2 separate regions of the Homo sapiens genome follow, and region 1 is linked to region 2. Evidence: promoter capture Hi-C in human tissues and cell types (Jung and others, 2019). All regions are on one chromosome and are shown on one strand. Each heading gives the region's core, a stretch centred on a gene start or on the middle of the fragment in contact. The rest is flanking DNA. Distances are from core to core; before and after follow the strand shown. Region 1 overlaps ATRN (attractin). Region 2 holds the start of DDRGK1 (DDRGK domain containing 1).

Evidence for each region. The method cuts DNA at HindIII sites, captures the fragments that hold promoters and counts their contacts. A contact is called where the count stands out against the background at its distance.
Region 1: a fragment that was not itself captured here is called in contact with the fragment with the promoter of DDRGK1 in region 2 in 1 of the 25 tissues and cell types used here (small bowel).

What each region holds. Positions count from the first base shown.
Region 1 is chr20:3,649,033-3,653,692 of GRCh38, reverse strand. It overlaps ATRN (attractin), which reads right to left. Exons shown (of 29, transcript NM_139321.3): 29 at 2,575-4,660. Among named protein-coding and RNA genes, the nearest start is that of GFRA4, 12 kb to the left of the region's middle. The HindIII fragment of the contact is 6,966 bases long and covers 1-4,660 here.
Region 2 is chr20:3,203,432-3,207,974 of GRCh38, reverse strand. It overlaps DDRGK1 (DDRGK domain containing 1), which reads left to right and starts at 3,293. Exons shown (of 9, transcript NM_023935.3): 1 at 3,293-3,438. The coding sequence starts at 3,348. It also overlaps a transcript of ITPA not described here. RefSeq lists an enhancer at 3,382-3,601. The HindIII fragment of the contact is 17,154 bases long and covers 1-4,543 here.

The DNA of each region.
Region 1 (4,660 bases), core at 1,109-3,608, 450 kb before region 2:
TACCATCTTCACCATAAGCCTTCAAGGTTGATGGAGACAGTGGAGGAGACACTGTTACTGTGAATGGCCTTGAAATGACACATCATTGGTGAGGGCTGGTCCCAAGGCATCTGGGTAGATGCCACGGGCCCAGGCCATGCAGTCGAAGCTGTGGACTCAGGAAGAGGAAATGTGTGGTAAGCATCTGGCCCAGTTTGCTATTCTGATCACCAAAACCAGTTTTGTGCTTCCTCTCCTACATGGGTCACAGGCACCCTCTCCTAGGGGGACAATACGAGGTCACACCCCGCCCAGACCTCCAGGTGATGCAGCCTCCCTCAGGTGGCTCTTTGAAGTCCACAATCCTGAATTAACAAGACAGCTTAATCCACCTCCCACCCAGCAGGTAGTGATGAGAACAGGCAGGACACCCTCCTAGGCCCTCCTACCCAGGAAGGAGCGGGTGCAGATGCAGCAATTGCTGCTCTGCGGTGTTTTTGCAATCCTGCTGGGCCCTGTCCTGGGCTGGGGGGAGTCCTCGCTCAGGCCCAGTTCTGCTCTTGGGCCCACATCTGAGCTTGTAAAGCCCTCGCTGGACACAGCTTTCACAACCATTTTCCTGCCTGAAGGTGGATTTAAGACTTCCTCAATTGCCACCGTTTTTTTTTTTTTTTTTTTTTTTTTTTAAGGCTTTGCTAATGGTTTCTTAAATTTACTACATCTTTATTTATTTCCAGGCAGGTCCAGGGTCAGTGACTACATTCATGGTTTGTTCCTGGAAACAGTTCTCATGTCAGCTTTTTCTTTGCTTCCTTAACCACGTGCCCCTCCCTCAAGCTGGTGGCTTTGCAGTTTCCATGCTCCAGTGGGAAGACCACACCCTTCATTGGATGGTCACCATGAGGCCCAGTCACTGTGTTCAACTAAGTCTCATGGGGCCTTTGTTGCTCACCTGCACCTCTTACTGGTTGGAGACTAGAAGCAGTTGGCTTTTCCAGAATTGCAAGGCCCTGGTTAACATCTTTCCATCTTTTTCCCTTCTGCTTGTAAACTGGCTAATTCTTTCTTGAAGTAAACTTTTTCTCGTGATGCCTCGCCAAAAGCAGCCAGTAACAATCAACACATATTTGTTGTTGTTGTTGTTGTTTATTCCCCTCAAGTCAAAAAGTCAGCAGACATGGAGTTTGTTTTCCGAGTTATCGAGTGAAACGGCCTTACCAGATGTTTTGCTCCGCCTGGCAGGGACCTCAGTTGTCCTGCCAGCTGCACCTGTCTTATCACTGCTCGCCACCTGGCCACACGCTGAGCCAGTGCCATGTACTTAAGGGTTTGGTTACATGTGCACTGCACTTCAAAGTGCTGATTTGTATATTAGTGAGAATAAGAAAAGCTAACTAGTGTAACAAAGCCCCAAATCTCAGTGGATCAGCAGAGTGAGTTTGCTTTCCAGTGATGCAAAGGCCAGCACAGCTCTTACTGATCAGGCGGCCGGCCTCTAAGGGGTGACTCAGGGACCCACAGTCCCTCCAGTCTTTAACATGTGATCCGTAGGAGAGTCCCCTGTGGGAGCATTTGTGTGCCACGTTTGGAATTGGTGCCCATCACTTCTTCCAACCTTTCCTTGGCCATGGCTTAGCTTGGTCCCAACCTAACTGCAGGGAGGCTGGGAAATGATGAGCTGTGGGCCCAGTAGGTTTGGTAAACACAGCATTGTCTCTGCCACAGTACCACCAAATCACAGGGTTTCTATCCTGTTACTGTTGGTGGCTCTCATAACCCTCCCTGGAAGAGTTTCAAGGTCCTTCTCAACTTGTTTGCAGCCACTAGTCCAGCCATTTCCCTCCCTAAGCCAGACCTGAGCTCTGGTAGGCAGGCCTCCTCCAGGCTCCTGCCCTCACCTCAGGCCCTGGCCCTAGTACCCTGCCATCTTCCCCTACAGGAGTGACCGTCTTGTGTTTCCTCCTTCTTTCAATGACCTCATCCTTCTGGAAGGAACTGCTAGCACTGGGAATCTGCACTCTGCACTGAAATACATGACTCTGACCCATTCTGAGGGCAGGAGCCAAATAAAAGGGGGCAGGACACACAGGAGGCCCCCAAACAAGGCCTTGCCAATGGGAGTAACTTCCTCAAAACTTCAAGGCCGAGGAAAACACTGGCCACGGCTGAGACCTGTCAGCACACCTGAGATTTAGCAGTTTGGAGACAACCTAGAGGACATTCAGGAGCCTGTGAGGAGAGCGCAAAGTGGAGGGATAACAGCACCACTGGAGACAGTGGTGTGGTTAGTGGAGCAGTGAGACGGCTGTCCATACCTCACTGCTCAGATCTGTCCCTGCCCCCACGGGCCCAGCTGCCCTGTAGGCACACAAAGGCTGTGTGGAAGGTCTGTGGCTCACAAGCTGCCTGGAGGGCTGTCTGAGGTACCTGCCAGGGGTTTTCACCCTCACCTCCGTTAACTGTCAAGTGCTCCCTCTGACGCAGTCTGAAAACTGGTAAACGCTTTTTTTTTTCCCTTAAGGTTCTAATGACCAAAATGTAAATATAGGCAAAACAATGCAAAATCAAAATGAAACACTCAGAACAAAAGCCACATTTTTACCAGATCTACTTTTATTTCAGAAGGAAGTTTGTATTATAGTATTTACTTTTGTTTATATACAAGTTCTTCACATTTGTGTTTAAAATGCACAGACCTCCCTTAGTTCTCTTGTTCCTGCTTAAATTAGCTGTTATTTTACAATACAAAAAATACCAAAAAATTGCAGTCCTAAATGTATGTATAACACCCACAATCCCCGCGATGAAATAGTTTACAATACTTACTCCATATTTACATGAGTGTAATAGATGCTAAATTATACATATTAACAAACTAAGCTTGAATCCAAACAAACGAAATCGTAAATAACTATAAAACAAAAACATTTCCAGAGCCAGAATTAGTTCAACGAAACAGGCTTCACTAGTGTTTAGAATGTTTTGTGCACAAATTCAGTTACTGAAAATCAATTCCATTACTGCCTTTAAAAGATGAGGTGCCAATTTTCCTCTCCATTTCAAAACATCTCCTTGTAGGCAGGGTGTTTGACTCTCATCAAGGGGCAATATCTCTTGGTGGGCCTGGCTATCTAGAAACCACCGCAATGGCTGGAGCCAAGTTTGGTCAATGGGGTAAACATTTCAGAAGGTAGGCAGGGCATGCCCTGAGGCCAGGAGGCCTCTGCCGTCCTGGCTGTGTCCTCAGGATGGCCAATTCTCACAGAAACCACCACAAGGAAAGATCTCCTGGGATGACAGGGGTGTGAGGACTTGGATTTTGTTTTAATTCTAAAATCTATTTTTACATCTCAGTCACTACCCTAGCATTAGCTTAAGTTAGTGTTTAGCAAATACTTGTTGAATGGATGGATGAATAAATGAAATGGAAGGATCAAAGATGTTCATGAAAACACCACCATCTCCCAAGGAAGTGAATCAGCCCCTGGCCCCAGTACACCCCATTAAATCAAAGGAGCAGGATTTGCACTGGAAGGTAAAATGCCTCTTCCCACCAGCAGTGCCCTGCTCTTTTTATTTCCCAGGTGTCTCCAGTCTTGAATGGCAGGACTTACCCACGGGTAGTCCAGTACTTTCCTTCTGCTGACAGTCTTCTGTCCAGGACTGCCTTTCCTCCGGGTTAGCTCAGGGGATCTGGGGTTGCCTTCTCTCCACACGGGGAGGCACAGGCTTCTCCCCAGGCTGTGTGCAGGGATGGCAGGAGGCACACAGGAGTCCAGGGTATGTCAAATTCTCCATGGGGAAATGGGAACTATTTATCAACAAACTAGCTCCCTACTCCCACCCCCAGTTTTCAGTATAATAAACTGATTCCAGGAAATGGTCATTAAAAATTTAGACAAAACTACAAAAAATGGAGAACCCCCTTTTGGAAAGTCTGATTGCTACAGGTTAGTCTTTGAACTTAAAGACTAAGAGAAACATTTCTCAGGACAAGACTGGTCATCCCTCACTACCCAGAGCACCAAGAGGCTGCCAGAAAGGGTCATGATGTGCTTGCAGGGCCAAGGGCAGCGGCAGGGACGCCTCTGCTTCCTGAGTCTCCTCCAGCACTGTCGTTTCGATTCCCTGCCTGATTTTTCATGTGCACTCTGACAGATGAGTCCTGTTTTAAGAAATACCTAATTGGTGCCAGATGCATCTGAACACATCACACAATGGGGATGCGTTTCTTGGGTTTGTTATTCATGTATCGGGGCCTGGCGAGAACCTGGATATCCAGCATATGGCACAAAAACATCTTAGGTGAAACTCAGACATTGTTATATTTAATAAAAATACATGAAGATTTTTTCTGTTTTATGTACACTCCGAATGTCTGAACATTCTGGACACTACTGTATAGTTATGTACAAGTGCAAGGTCAGTGTTGTCTTGACTATTTTAATTTATATACAGGCTCTCTTGTGACGCGCAACACTGCCAGATGACAACCAATTCCTTCTTGGAAACAGGCTCCGAGCCCAGCGCCTCTTACTCCCTGCCATTCCCTTTTTCTGCCCTGAGGCCGGAGAAAGCTGTTTGCTGTCGGTTGCAAAGGAGAAGCAGGTGGATTCAGCGGCTTCCCCACCGCTGGAGCAGAATGAAACTTCACTTGCTCCTTCCTTCCTTTTTAAAAATA
Region 2 (4,543 bases), core at 2,044-4,543:
CACCTGGCCTGGAGTGCAATGGCATGATCTTGGCTCACTGCAACCTCTGTCTCCTGGGTTGAAGCGATTCTCCTGCCTCAGCCTCCTGAGTAGCTGGGACTACAAGCACCCCCCACGACGCCCAGCTAATTTCTGCATTTTTAGTAGAGACGGGGTTTCACCATGTTGGCCAGGCTGGTCTCGAACTCCTGACGTCGTGATATGCCCACCTCGGCCTCCCTAAGTGCTGGGATTACAGGCATCAGCCACTGTGTTTTGTTGTTGTTGTTGTTGTTGTTTTGAGATGGAGTCTTGCTCTTGTCGCCCAGGCTTGAGTGCAGTGGCACGATCTCGGCTCACTTCAACCTCCGACTCCCGGGTTCAAGGGATTCTCCTGCCTCAGCCTCCTGAGTAGCTGGGATTACAGACATGCACCACCACACCCAGTGAATTTTTGTACTTTTAGTAGAGGTGGGGTTTCACCATATTGACCAGGCTGGTCTCAAACTCCTGACCTCAGGAGATCCCTCCACCTCAGCCTCCCAAAGTGCTGAGATTACAGGCTTGAGCCACGGTGCCCAGCCTCACCTCTCATTCTTAAATCCCAGCTCCTGGTACATAGTAGGTGTTCTGTAATGTAAGATAACTAGCTTGGGCACAGTGGATCACTTGATCCCAGGAGTTCAAGACAAGCCTAGACAACATGGTGAAACCCAGTCTCTACAAAAAATACAAAAAATTAGTTGGGCTTGGGGGCACACACCTGTAGTCACAGCTGTTTAGGAGGCTGAGGTGGGAGGATCACCTGAGCCTGGGAAGTCGAGGCTGCAGTGAGCCAAGAGTGCCACTGTACTCTAGCCTGGGTGATGTGAGTGAGACCCTGTCTCAAAAAACCAACAAACAAAAAGATCACAACTGACATCTATAATTACAAGTCCATAGATAACTTTCTTTTTCATTCTTTTATTTATTTATTTTTTTTGAGATGGAGTCTTGCTCTGTTGCCCAGGCTGAAGTACAGTGGTGTGGTCCCGGCTCACTGCAACCTCTGCATATTGGGTTCGAGCAGTTCTCCCACCTCAGCCTCCTGAGTAGCTGGGACTCCAGGCATGCACCACCATGCCTGGTTAATTTTTGTATCTTTCTTCTTCTTTTTTTTTTTTTTTTGAGACAGTCTCACTCTGTCGCCCAGGCTGGAGTGCAGTGGCGCGATCTCAGCTCACTGCAAGCTCCGCCTCCCGGGTCCCCACCATTCTCCTGCCTCAGCCTCCCAAGTAGCTGGGACTACAGGCGCCCACCACCACGCCTGGCTAATTTTTTTGTATTTTTAGTAGAGACGGGGTTTCACCGTGTTAGCCAGGATGGTTTTGATCTCCTGACCTCGTGATCCGCCTGCCTCAGCCTCCCGAAGTGCTGGGATTATGGGCATGAGCCACCACACCCGGCTAATTTTGTATTTTTAGTAGAGATGGGGTTTCTCCATGTTGGTCAGGCTGGTCTCAAATTCCCGACCTCAGGTGATCCACCCACCTCGACCTCCCAAAGTGTTGGTTGGGATTGTAGGCGTGAGCCACGGTGCCCAGCTTTTTTTTTTTTTTTTTTTTTTTTGAGACTGAGTCTCACTCTGTTGCCCAGGCTGGAGTGCAATAGTGTGATCTCGGCTCACTGCAACCTCTGCCTCCCGGCTTCGAGAGATTCTCCTGCCTCAGCCTCCCAAGTAGCTGGGATTACAGGCACCCACCACCACGCCAAGCTAATTTTGTATTTTTAGTAGAGACAGGGTTTCACTGTGTTTGTCAGGCTGGTCTCAAACTCCTGAGTTCAGGTGATCCACCCACCTCAGCCTCCCAAAGTGCTGGGATTACAGGTGTGAGCCACCTCGCCCAGCCCATATTTTTTCTTTTTCTTTTTCTTTCTTTCTTTCTTTTTTTTTTTTTTTTGAGACAGAGTCTTGCTCTGTCGCTCAGGCTGGTGTGCAGTGGTGCAATCTTGGCTCACTGCAACGTCCGCCCCCTGGGTTCAAGTGATTCTCCTGCCTCAGCCTCCCGAGTAGCTGGGATTACAGGCATGTGCCACCACGCCCCACTCATTGTTTGTATTTTTAGTAGAGACAGGATTTCATCACGTCAGCTAGGCTGGTTTTGAACACTTGACCTGAAGTGATCCGCCCACCTCGGCCTCCCAAAGTGCTAGGATTACAGGGGAGAGCCACCTCATCTGGCCCGTATTTTTTCAAATCCCTTTCTCACCATTGTTCATTGGTCCTGAATTTATTTTTATTTATTTTTATTTTCTGAGACAGGGTCTCACTCTATCACCCAGGCTGGAGTGCACTGGCATGATCATGGCTCACTGCAGCCTCGACCTCCCTGGGCTCAGGTGATCTTCCCACCTCATCTTCCCAAGTACCTGGAATCACAGGTGCATGCCACCACACCTGGCTAATTTTTGTATTTTGTAGAGACAGGGTTTCATCATGTTGCCCAGGCTGGTCTTGAACTCCTAGGCTCACCTCTACCTAGACTTCCCAAAGTATTGGGTTAACAGACGAGCCTCTGTGCCTGGCTCCTGAAATAAATCTTTACTTCTGTTATCATGTATACAAAAAGCTTAATAAATTCCAGTACTGCCCTCCCCTCCCCTCCCCTTCCCCTCAAAAGAAAGAAAGAAAGAAAGAAATTCAGTGTCACAGATACAGCAAAACCCCAACCCGCTTCCCTCCTCCTAGAGGTAATCGCTATCCTGAAGTTGGTGTGCATCAGTCCCAAGCCTCTTTTCGTACTTTTTCCACGGTTGTTTCCATAAACACTATGTGGGATTGTTTAGTGATTTTTAAAACATATATAGTCCGGGCGCGGTGGCTCACGCCTGTAATCCCAGCACTTTGGGAGGCCAAGGTGGGTGGATCACAAGGTCAGGAGTTCGAGACCAGCCTGGCCAACACGGTGAAACCCCCATCTCTACTAAAAATACAAAAATTAGCCGGGCGTGGTGGCGGGCGCCTGTAATCCCAGCTACTCGGGAGTCTGAGGCAGGAGAATCGCTTGAACCTGGGAGGTGGAGGTTGCAGTGAGCCGAGATCGCACCACCGCACTCCAGCCTGTGCGACAGAGACTCCGTCTCAAAAAAAAAAAACATACATAGATGTTTTCTACTGGACATACCGTCTGCTATAATTTCCTCTTAACATTGTGGGTTTCTTTACACCCCCCAAACTCATTTTAATGTCTGACATTAAAGCCTCTCTGTGATGTGCCGCTGGGCGGGGCTCCGAGTAGTGGGCGGAGTCTAGATTGGGAAATAGGGGCGGGGCCTATGAGATCCCGGCCTCAGGGTGGACGCAGTGGTTCTGCACTGAGGCCCTCGTCATGGTGGCGCCTGTGTGGTACTTGGTAGCGGCGGCTCTGCTAGTCGGCTTTATCCTCTTCCTGACTCGCAGCCGGGGCCGGGCGGCATCAGGTAGGAGATGCCGCTGCACCAGGGTTGGTGGTACCGGGTTTTCTGGCCTTCTGAGCCTTTGTGGACCGTCGCGCCGCGGCTCCTGCGCGTGCGCACCTGGGCGGGCGGGACGCATGCGCGTCCGTGCGCTAGTCGTGTGCCGGGTGGGGCTTCCGCAGTGCCCTACCTGGAATCGGTGGCCGCGCCGCTACCCCTTTCTCTCGACTCCAAGCCAGAGTCTGGCCTCATCCCTCTCTTCACCCCCGGGAACTCCATACCTCCAAAGGCCTGAGGCCCTGGCCGGCGCACACTCCCATCCGTCACCGTCGGGGCCCTTTCCCTCTGCACCTGTTAGGGAGGCCGCAGGGGTTTTCCATTCCTCCCAGCCTGGCTCCAGAGCAGGTGCCAGGAAGGGGGCATCTGAATATTTTCTGCCTGTCCCCCACGAGCTGGAGAAGCGCGAGGCGGCTCCAGGAAATTCCTGAAGCTCTCTCCCTTCCCGCCAAGGAGAGGGCCCACTCTCCCTCCCCAATCCGCTCCCCGATCAGAAGGCCATGTCATTGGCCAGGGCACAGAACAGATACACCCATCCTCCCTCTTTCCCCCCATTTCTGGTCAGCGGGCGGGTTTGTATATGTGTTTTCCTGCTCCCTGGGCCCACAAGCTACCTCTGAGCACCTGCGCGCTCCCAGGAGCGGAAGGGACACGCTGAGGGAAGGCGGAGATCCAGCAGGTCTTCCCGGGGGAGGCTCGGCCACCGCCGGGAAGTGTACTCTCTGGCTGGGGAGCCAGATAAAACCACAGGTGGTGTTAGGCGAGAAATCAGTGGATTCCTGCAGGGGGTACTCGATGAGAGCTGGGGACATCAGGATAGGGGCCTCCTGACAGGCCAGCTGGAAAGGTGGAGCCGGGAGGGGAGAGGAGTATTCACACAGGCCCGAGGGAAGGGCTGAGCCCCCGCCTGGGACCAAGCTGTGGGCCTGGTGGAAAAGGCCTTGCCAGTCAGACTGAGAAGTCGGGGCCTTGTGCTGTGGGCAGCAGGCCGCTAAGCAGAGGAGGTGAGGCTTCCGGGCTGCCGCTCCTCCTGCCATGGGCCGGGCTGGGCTTATAGGCAGCATTGTCATTT